Regions from separate parts of the Homo sapiens genome. Here region 2 is linked to region 1. Evidence: promoter capture Hi-C in 16 types of primary human blood cells and fetal thymus (Javierre and others, 2016). All regions are on one chromosome and are shown on one strand. Each heading gives the region's core, a stretch centred on a gene start or on the middle of the fragment in contact. The rest is flanking DNA. Distances are from core to core; before and after follow the strand shown.

What was found. The method cuts DNA at HindIII sites, captures the fragments that hold promoters and counts their contacts. A CHiCAGO score of 5 or more calls a contact.
Region 2: a fragment that was not itself captured here is called in contact with the fragment with the promoter of STEAP3-AS1 in region 1 in 1 of 17 cell types (monocytes); the score reaches 5.2 in monocytes.

What each region holds. Positions count from the first base shown.
Region 1 is chr2:119,247,068-119,250,796 of GRCh38, reverse strand. It overlaps STEAP3-AS1 (STEAP3 antisense RNA 1), which reads left to right and starts at 1,726. Exons shown (of 2, transcript NR_046721.1): 1 at 1,726-2,483. STEAP3 (STEAP3 metalloreductase) reads right to left here. Exons shown (of 6, transcript NM_182915.3): 4 at 2,591-3,118. The HindIII fragment of the contact is 11,024 bases long and covers 1-3,729 here.
Region 2 is chr2:118,867,478-118,871,216 of GRCh38, reverse strand. No RefSeq gene overlaps it. Among named protein-coding and RNA genes, the nearest start is that of EN1, 22 kb to the right of the region's middle. The HindIII fragment of the contact is 1,381 bases long and covers 1,236-2,616 here.

The sequences.
Region 1 (3,729 bases), core at 477-2,976:
CCTCTGTGCCCTGGTATTTGCATCAGGGCAGAATTGGGTTAACAGAATATCAGGGAGAGCCTTGGCAGGGCAGAGAATTTAGACAAAGGCAGTTGAAGGGTGGCAGGGGAGGGAGGGAGCAGTGGTGTGTCTTTTACCCTGGGGGGTAGTGGGCACCGTCCCCGTCTTTCCCACTGCTGCTGGAAATACCTGCCAGCTCAGGGGAGAGGGAGTGGGCTCCTCCATGCAGATCTGCCCCGTCCTGGGCAGCAACATTGTACTAGTCCCCAGGGAGCCCCGCAGAGCCTCCTGCCAAGGGGCTGGTGCTTTGTAGAAGTCAGTAAGAAAATATCGTCAAAGAGCATTGAAAACATTAGCACTAGGAGAGAGCTTGATCTACACATCAGGGCCTCGAGGACAAAAGAGGGGCTGTGACTTGCTCAAGGTCAAGATCTTTGTTCCAGTCAGCGATGCTGGAGAGCAGGAGTCCAGCCTCTAGCCTTCAGGCCTCCACACCGCCCCACACCAGCTGAGGCGAGGAGCCAGATGGTCTGTGTCTTTCTTACTCCTTTCTGTGGCCCCAGGGCCTGGCAGAGTAGGTGCTCAGTGAATGAGTGAATGAATGACCTAGTTCTGAAATCATTTACTCAATTGTGAATTTGGTTTGCCTGTAGAAAGCAGCGTGGGTATAAGCATGGATCTGGAAAATAGCTGGATCTGAATCCCAGCTGTGCTACTTACTGACTGTGTGACTTTGGCCAAGTTACTTGACCCCTCTGTGCCTCAGATTTCTCATCTATGAAATAAGGATATAATAGCACCTGGCCTACAGGGATGAGATGGGGTTAAATGAATTCACAGTGGTGTACGAAGCTCTTAGAATGGTTCCTGGAACACAGCGAGCTCTTGTTAAGGGTTCATGACTGATTTCTTCCCTTCCTCTCATTTCCATCAAGCATCTTGCTTTTCTGCCTGAAGTCTGGGGTTCTTCCTTTGTCTTAGGAAATTCTGAGCCCACAGATGCAATGATGCCGGTATCTGTGGGTGGCAAAGGACGAGGGCAGTCGAGTAGCTGCTGGCAGAGAAGCAGCAACCCTGACAGTGAGTAGGGGCTGAGGTCTGTGGTTCTCAGGAGGTGCCCAGCCCTGCTTCCCAGTCCTGCCAATCCCCCATGCTCGGAGGGGATGGCCCTGTGCTAGGTGTTTAGGGGAGGGCCCAGCCTCACCAAGGTCCCTGCATTCTGAGCAGGAGCAGGAGCTGCAGGGGCTGCCAGGCTGGAATGAGGGGTGGATGAGAAGTGTCTCACCAGCACCTGGGCTGAACCCTGTTGGGTGACTAGCGTCCTGGAGTGGGCAGGACCTATGCATCAACCAGCCCCGGGGCTGGGCACTGGAGGTGGAATTAATTTGGAGAAAATAAAGACAGTGTTGCTGAAGATGTGAGCTTGGGACTAAGAATCAAGCCCCATGAGCTTGTGGACCAGGAGGGAGCATCAGGGGCCTGTTTCTGTGGGCACAGGTGCCAGCTGATGCCTGGGTCCCCACCTGGTGTGGCCTGAAGGTCCTCCACTTCCCAGGAACCCTGCTGGCAACCAAGCCCCATATGAATTTTCTAAATGAATGATTAGTGCCACCCCCAGTAAAACAAACAAAGAACAACAACAACAACAACAAACCTAAACCTGGAATGCTCACTCCTGCAGCCTTCCCCATCTCAGCTGATGGCAACTCTCTCTTTCAGGTGCTCAGACCCAAACCCCAGAGTCATCCCTGATCACCCACAAAACCCTGGGGCCATTCCAGCGGCAATTCCATGCACTCCAGCTTCACATGTGCCTTCAGGATCTCCTTGCTCCTCCACTGCTCCCACTGCCTCCAGCCTCCACTGCCTCAAATCTGGGCATATGCACGGCTTCCTCGCTGGCCCCAGCAGCTAGCTGCCTTTGACCTCCTACAGTCTGTTCTCAGCCAAAAACCAGAGAGAACCACTTAAAATGTCAGGCCGATCAACACCTAAATTCAAACCTTCACCAGCTCCCTATTTCACTCGGAGCCTAAGGCTGAAGCTCTTCCTCTCAGGCCTCGCCTGCCACCCCCTCCTTGTTCAGCTTTAGCCACATGGGCCTCCTGGCTGCTCCTCCAACGTACCAGGCACACTTCTGCCCAAGGACTATGCCCCGTGGCCTGCAACATCACCCCAGCAGGCCACCGGCCCCTCTCCCCTCCTTCCAGCTCTGCTCACATAGCACTCACTCTGCAAGTCCTCCTGGACCATCTTCAAACCTGCACCCCCACCGCCCACGCTTGCTTTCCTTTGCGCCTTAGCACTCCTGATCCTCTCAACGCCCACTATGACTCACTGCTGTATTTTGTTTAAGTCTGCCCCAACTGGGCTGTACCCATGGGGGCAGGAATTTTCATCTGCTTTGTTCACTGATACTCAAAATCTTGGGCAGGAGGATGTGGGTGCTGCCCCATTGGAACAGAATCTGCAGTTGGCACCTGGTAAGGCTGCACCCGTGGGTATCGGCTGCACCTGGTTGGTGGGGGGGGGAGGTGCTGGACAAGCATGTGCTGAGTTGCCAGAGGGAGGAAGGGCATGGGGTGGGTACCTGCTTGACTGCCAGGTTGACCAGGTCGTAGCGGTGGGCGCGGCGCAGCGGCAAGCAGAAGCTGTAGAGGGCGTGCAGGGCGGCGCAGAAGAAGCTGAGCAGCCCGATCTGCTTGCGGTGCTGTAGCCAGTGGTCCAGCCAGTCGGGGAAGCGCTGGTACTTGGTGCCGCGCCGCAGCTGCAGGGCAGCCGCCAGCACGCCGGGCAAGTACACGAGTGACAGCAGCACGTAGGCCACGCACGGCAGTGTGGTGTTGACCACGGACACGGGCAGCTTGAAGAACTTGTTCTGGCTTTCCTGCACATAGGGCTGCAGAACGTCCCGGACGAAGTTGTAGGCATAGAAGCAGACGAAGAGCCCCAGGGCCAGCAGGGTGGGCACCTTCCAGGCCGGGAGGAGGCGCAGGGGCATGGCCTCCACCTCCCAGGCTGACGCCAGGGATCCCATGTCCACGGGCATGAAGCCCATGGCGAGCGCCATCTCCGAGACAGCACGCTTGGCTTCTGGCTGGTCACCGCAGATGGGCACCTGCGGGAGAAAAGTGGGGCAGTCAGACGGCGTCACAGGCCACAGGAGTGGGCAGGGCCTCACTGAGCAGCTGAGGAAACCGAGGGCCAGAGGGGCAGGGACTTGTTCAAGTGAGCTGCCAGTCAATGGTACAGGTGGGAGCCAATGGGGTTCTAGCTCCCAGGCTAGGGGTCTTTTCTCTGCTGCCCAGGCCTCCCAGCCTCTGGCCCACCTGCCAAGCCAGGCCAACTACTCAAGGAGGGAAGCTGCAAACAGTAAGCATCTTGCCCAGCTCGTGGACATCAGCAACCACAAGCAAAATGCTCATCCAGGTAGTCCCCATGGGCCCCCGACATGGCTGTCTCCAAGGCCGTGGCCTGCCCTGGGAGCCGCTCAGCAAAAGAGTTTTGCGTATGGTGCAGAATGGGCAGCTGTGGCTGCAGCTCCATCCCTCAGTTCAGAATCACCCCCCTTGATGATGTCCCTCGGCTCAGTAGAGCCCTCAGCCAGCACATAAGGCCTTCTACAAGCCAGCTCCAGCCTGCCCTCTCCGCCTTGAAGCCCGCTGCTCTGACCCACGAGGTCCCCCTGCAGGCACATTGCAGTCCTCAGATCCCCAAGCACCCCGTGGG
Region 2 (3,739 bases), core at 677-3,176, 380 kb after region 1:
GAAAGTGATTGCAAAGAAGCACAAAGGAATTTTGGGATGGGATGGAACAGTTCTCTATCTTGATGATCATCATGCTTAGACACTGAATACATTTGTCAAAAATTATAAAGTTAAAATTGGTTGATTTCTTATATATAAATTATACCTTAATTAAGCTGCTTTTTTTTTCAAAACAAAGAAGAAAGAAAATCCAATGCCTATCATAATCTAGAGATTCAGCTCCTAGGTTTATACTCAACATACAGGAGCACACATGTGCACCAAAACACATATTCACTGAAGTTCATAGCAGCCTTATTTATAATGGCCCCAACCTGGAAACAACCAAAATGTCCATCAATAGTAAAATGAATTGTGGCGGATCATACAATGTGTCATCACATATTCATCATTTTACTATTGAAAAAGCAAACTCTAGCTACATAAAGCTCCCAGATGAATCTCAGGCAGAATGTTGAGCTAAAGAAGCCATATGCAAAAGAGTACACATGATAAAGCTTCCATTTACGGGAACTTCAGATACAAGCAAAACTAATCTGCATGATGGAAATCAGACTAATGGCTACCTCTGCAGGGAGACATGACCAGGAAGGGCATGAGAGAGCTTTCTGGAGGCTGGAAATGTTAAATATGCAGATCTAGGTGGCAATAATACAGGTGTACATATACGGAAAAGTTTCATAAGCTGGACACTTCAGATCTGTAAAATTTTATTGAATGTAAGTTTTACCTCAATAAGAAAATGATCTAAGACATATCTGTAAGATTAAGTCCGTATTCATTTCAATTCCTTGAATTTAGATTTGACGGACATATAGACAAGGTGAGTTGGGGTTTCTATCTGCTCTCTATGAAAACAAGGAAATTAGTAGCATATACAATGGCCATGCTGAGCCTCCTTATGAGTGAAGAGTTGTTGGAGAATTGTCTTGACAGTTTGGAAAATTACAATCTGTGCAATCACATGTATTTCACATTGAATGTGCTAATTATAAGCATTTCTTATCTGTTCACCAGGTCAGATTTCCCAGCCACTGCCACCAGGGCCCCTGGAGTCTCAAGAAGACTTAATTGCCATCTCCCAGTGTCCTTGACTGAGGACCTGTTTAAAAGTGCTTTAGCAAATGTTTGAGCTGCAGGAGGAGTGCCGAGCTGTTCATTTTGCAGTGCTCAGAGGGTGAGGACCCCTTCTGCTGCTGTCCTGTTACCCTGGTTCACTGGTGGATGTGCAAGCTTGCTGTAGCCAGAAGCCCTCGTTACATTATGGTCTTCATGTTTAGGAAAAGCATTATTGAAAGCAGAAGATTGTGAGCCCCAGCTCCCCTAGAGCCTGGAAAGGAAGGGGAATTCAGAGTCACAGTCTCACTAAATTGAAGCTGGGGGCTAGGCCAAGCACATTTCCTGCATTATATAATGTAATCCTCTCAGTGACATGGCAGATGGCACTCCAGACCAACATGGGAGGAGGCAACAGGGATGGGACTACTGGGCATCCACGTAGAAAAACATAACATCGAATCCCTTCCTCCTCCATATATTCTGTACTTTTCAGTAAATCTCAGGTACACGGAGGATTTACAGGTGAAAGGCAAGACTTCAAAACTGTTCAAAGAAAATATAGAAGAGTATCTTTCTGACTTTGAGTTTGAGATGATTTCTTAAACACAAGAGAGAAAAAGCACTAACTACAATAAGGAAACATTAATAAACCAGACGACATTAAAATTAACTCTGTTCATCAAAAGACACCAAAAGAAAAGTGAAAGGCAGGCCATAGACCAGGAGAAAATATACGCAACATCTGTAGCTGGTAGATTACTATCCAGAATACATAAAGAACTCCTGCCAATGCATTAGAAAAAAGGACAGCCCAGCAGAAAATGAGCAAAAGCTGCAAATAGGCATTTCTCAGAAGAAGGAAGTAAAAAATAACCCAGTGAGACACAATTGTAGTAAAAACGCTAAGTTCTGGGCAAGACATGGACTTCAATGTTAATCCATTTCTGCTGTTTCTGATGAATGTGTATTTGATGCAATACAACTTGATGCTTTCCACCACAATGTGATGGAAATTTGTGACCTAGCACTTTGACTTCATTTATATACATGAGAGCAGGGGTTTGCAAACTGAGGCCTGTGGACTTTGTTTTTGCTAAATAAAGTTTTATTGGAAGTCAGCCACACTTACTTGTTAAGATATGGCTGCTCTTGTAACACACAACAGCAGAGTTGAGTAGTCGCAACAGACACCTTAAGGCTTCAAAGCCTACAATATTTACTAGCTGATATTTTGCAAACAAAGTTTGCCAACCCTGATCTAGAGACAGTTTTAAGGTATCATTTTCTTTTTACCTATAACTTTCTAGAACCCATACCATTTTAACAGGCTTTATTTTTAGAACAGTTTTAAACTCATAGGGAAATTGAGAAGACAGTAGAGAATTCCCATAGACTCTCTCACCCAGTTTTCTCTGTCATTGACCTTAGCATGGTACCCTTGTTACATATTGCTACATGATTAACTAAAGTCCATAGTTCATTCACATTTTCTTAGCTTTTATCTAAAGTCTTCTGCTCCAAGATCCCATCCATTTACTTGACATATTTCCTTAAGCTTCTCTTGGCTGTGAGAGTTTCTCAAACTTCCCCTGTTTCTGATGACCCTGACAGTTGAGCAGTACTGGTCAGGTGTTTTGTAGAATGTCTCTCTGTGGAATCTATTTGATGTGTTTCTCATGATTAGACTGGGGTTATGGACTTTGGGGAGGAAGACCACTGAGGTAAAATGCCATTTTTATCATTATATGAAAGACATGTACTAACATGATTTATCACTGTTGCTACTGACCTTGATCACCCAGCTGAGGTAGTATGTGTCAGATTTTGACACTGTAAAGTGACTCTTTCCCCTATACTCCGTGGAGGGAACAAACGCATCATGCACAGCCCAGCCCACACTTAGTGGGTAGGGATGTATCCTCTTCCTTGAGGCTGAAATATATAACATATGTTATATATAATGTTACATATTATATATGTTATATATAATGTTACATATTATATATGTTATATATAATGTTACATATTATATATGTTATATGTTATATATAATATATGTTATATGTTATATATAATATATGTTATATGTTATATATTATATATGCTATATGTTATATATTATATATGTTATATATTATATTATATATAATATATGTTATATATTATATTATATATAATATATGTTATATATTATATTATATATAATATATGTTATATATTATATTATATATAATATATGTTATATATTATATTATATATAATATATGTTATATATTATATTATATATAATATATGTTATATATTATATTATATATAATATATGTTATATATTATATTATATATAATATATGTTATATGTTATATATTATATATAATATATATGTTATATATTATATATAATATAATATATGTTATATGTTATATATAATATAATATATGTTATATGTTATATATAATATAATATATGTTATATGTTATATATAATATAATATATGTTATATGTTATATATAATATAATATATGTTATATGTTATATATAATATATGTTATATGTTATATGTTATATATAATATATGTTATATGTTATATGTTATATATAATATATGTTATATGTTATATGTTATATAATATATGTTATGTTATATATTATTTATATAATATATGTTATATATTATTTATA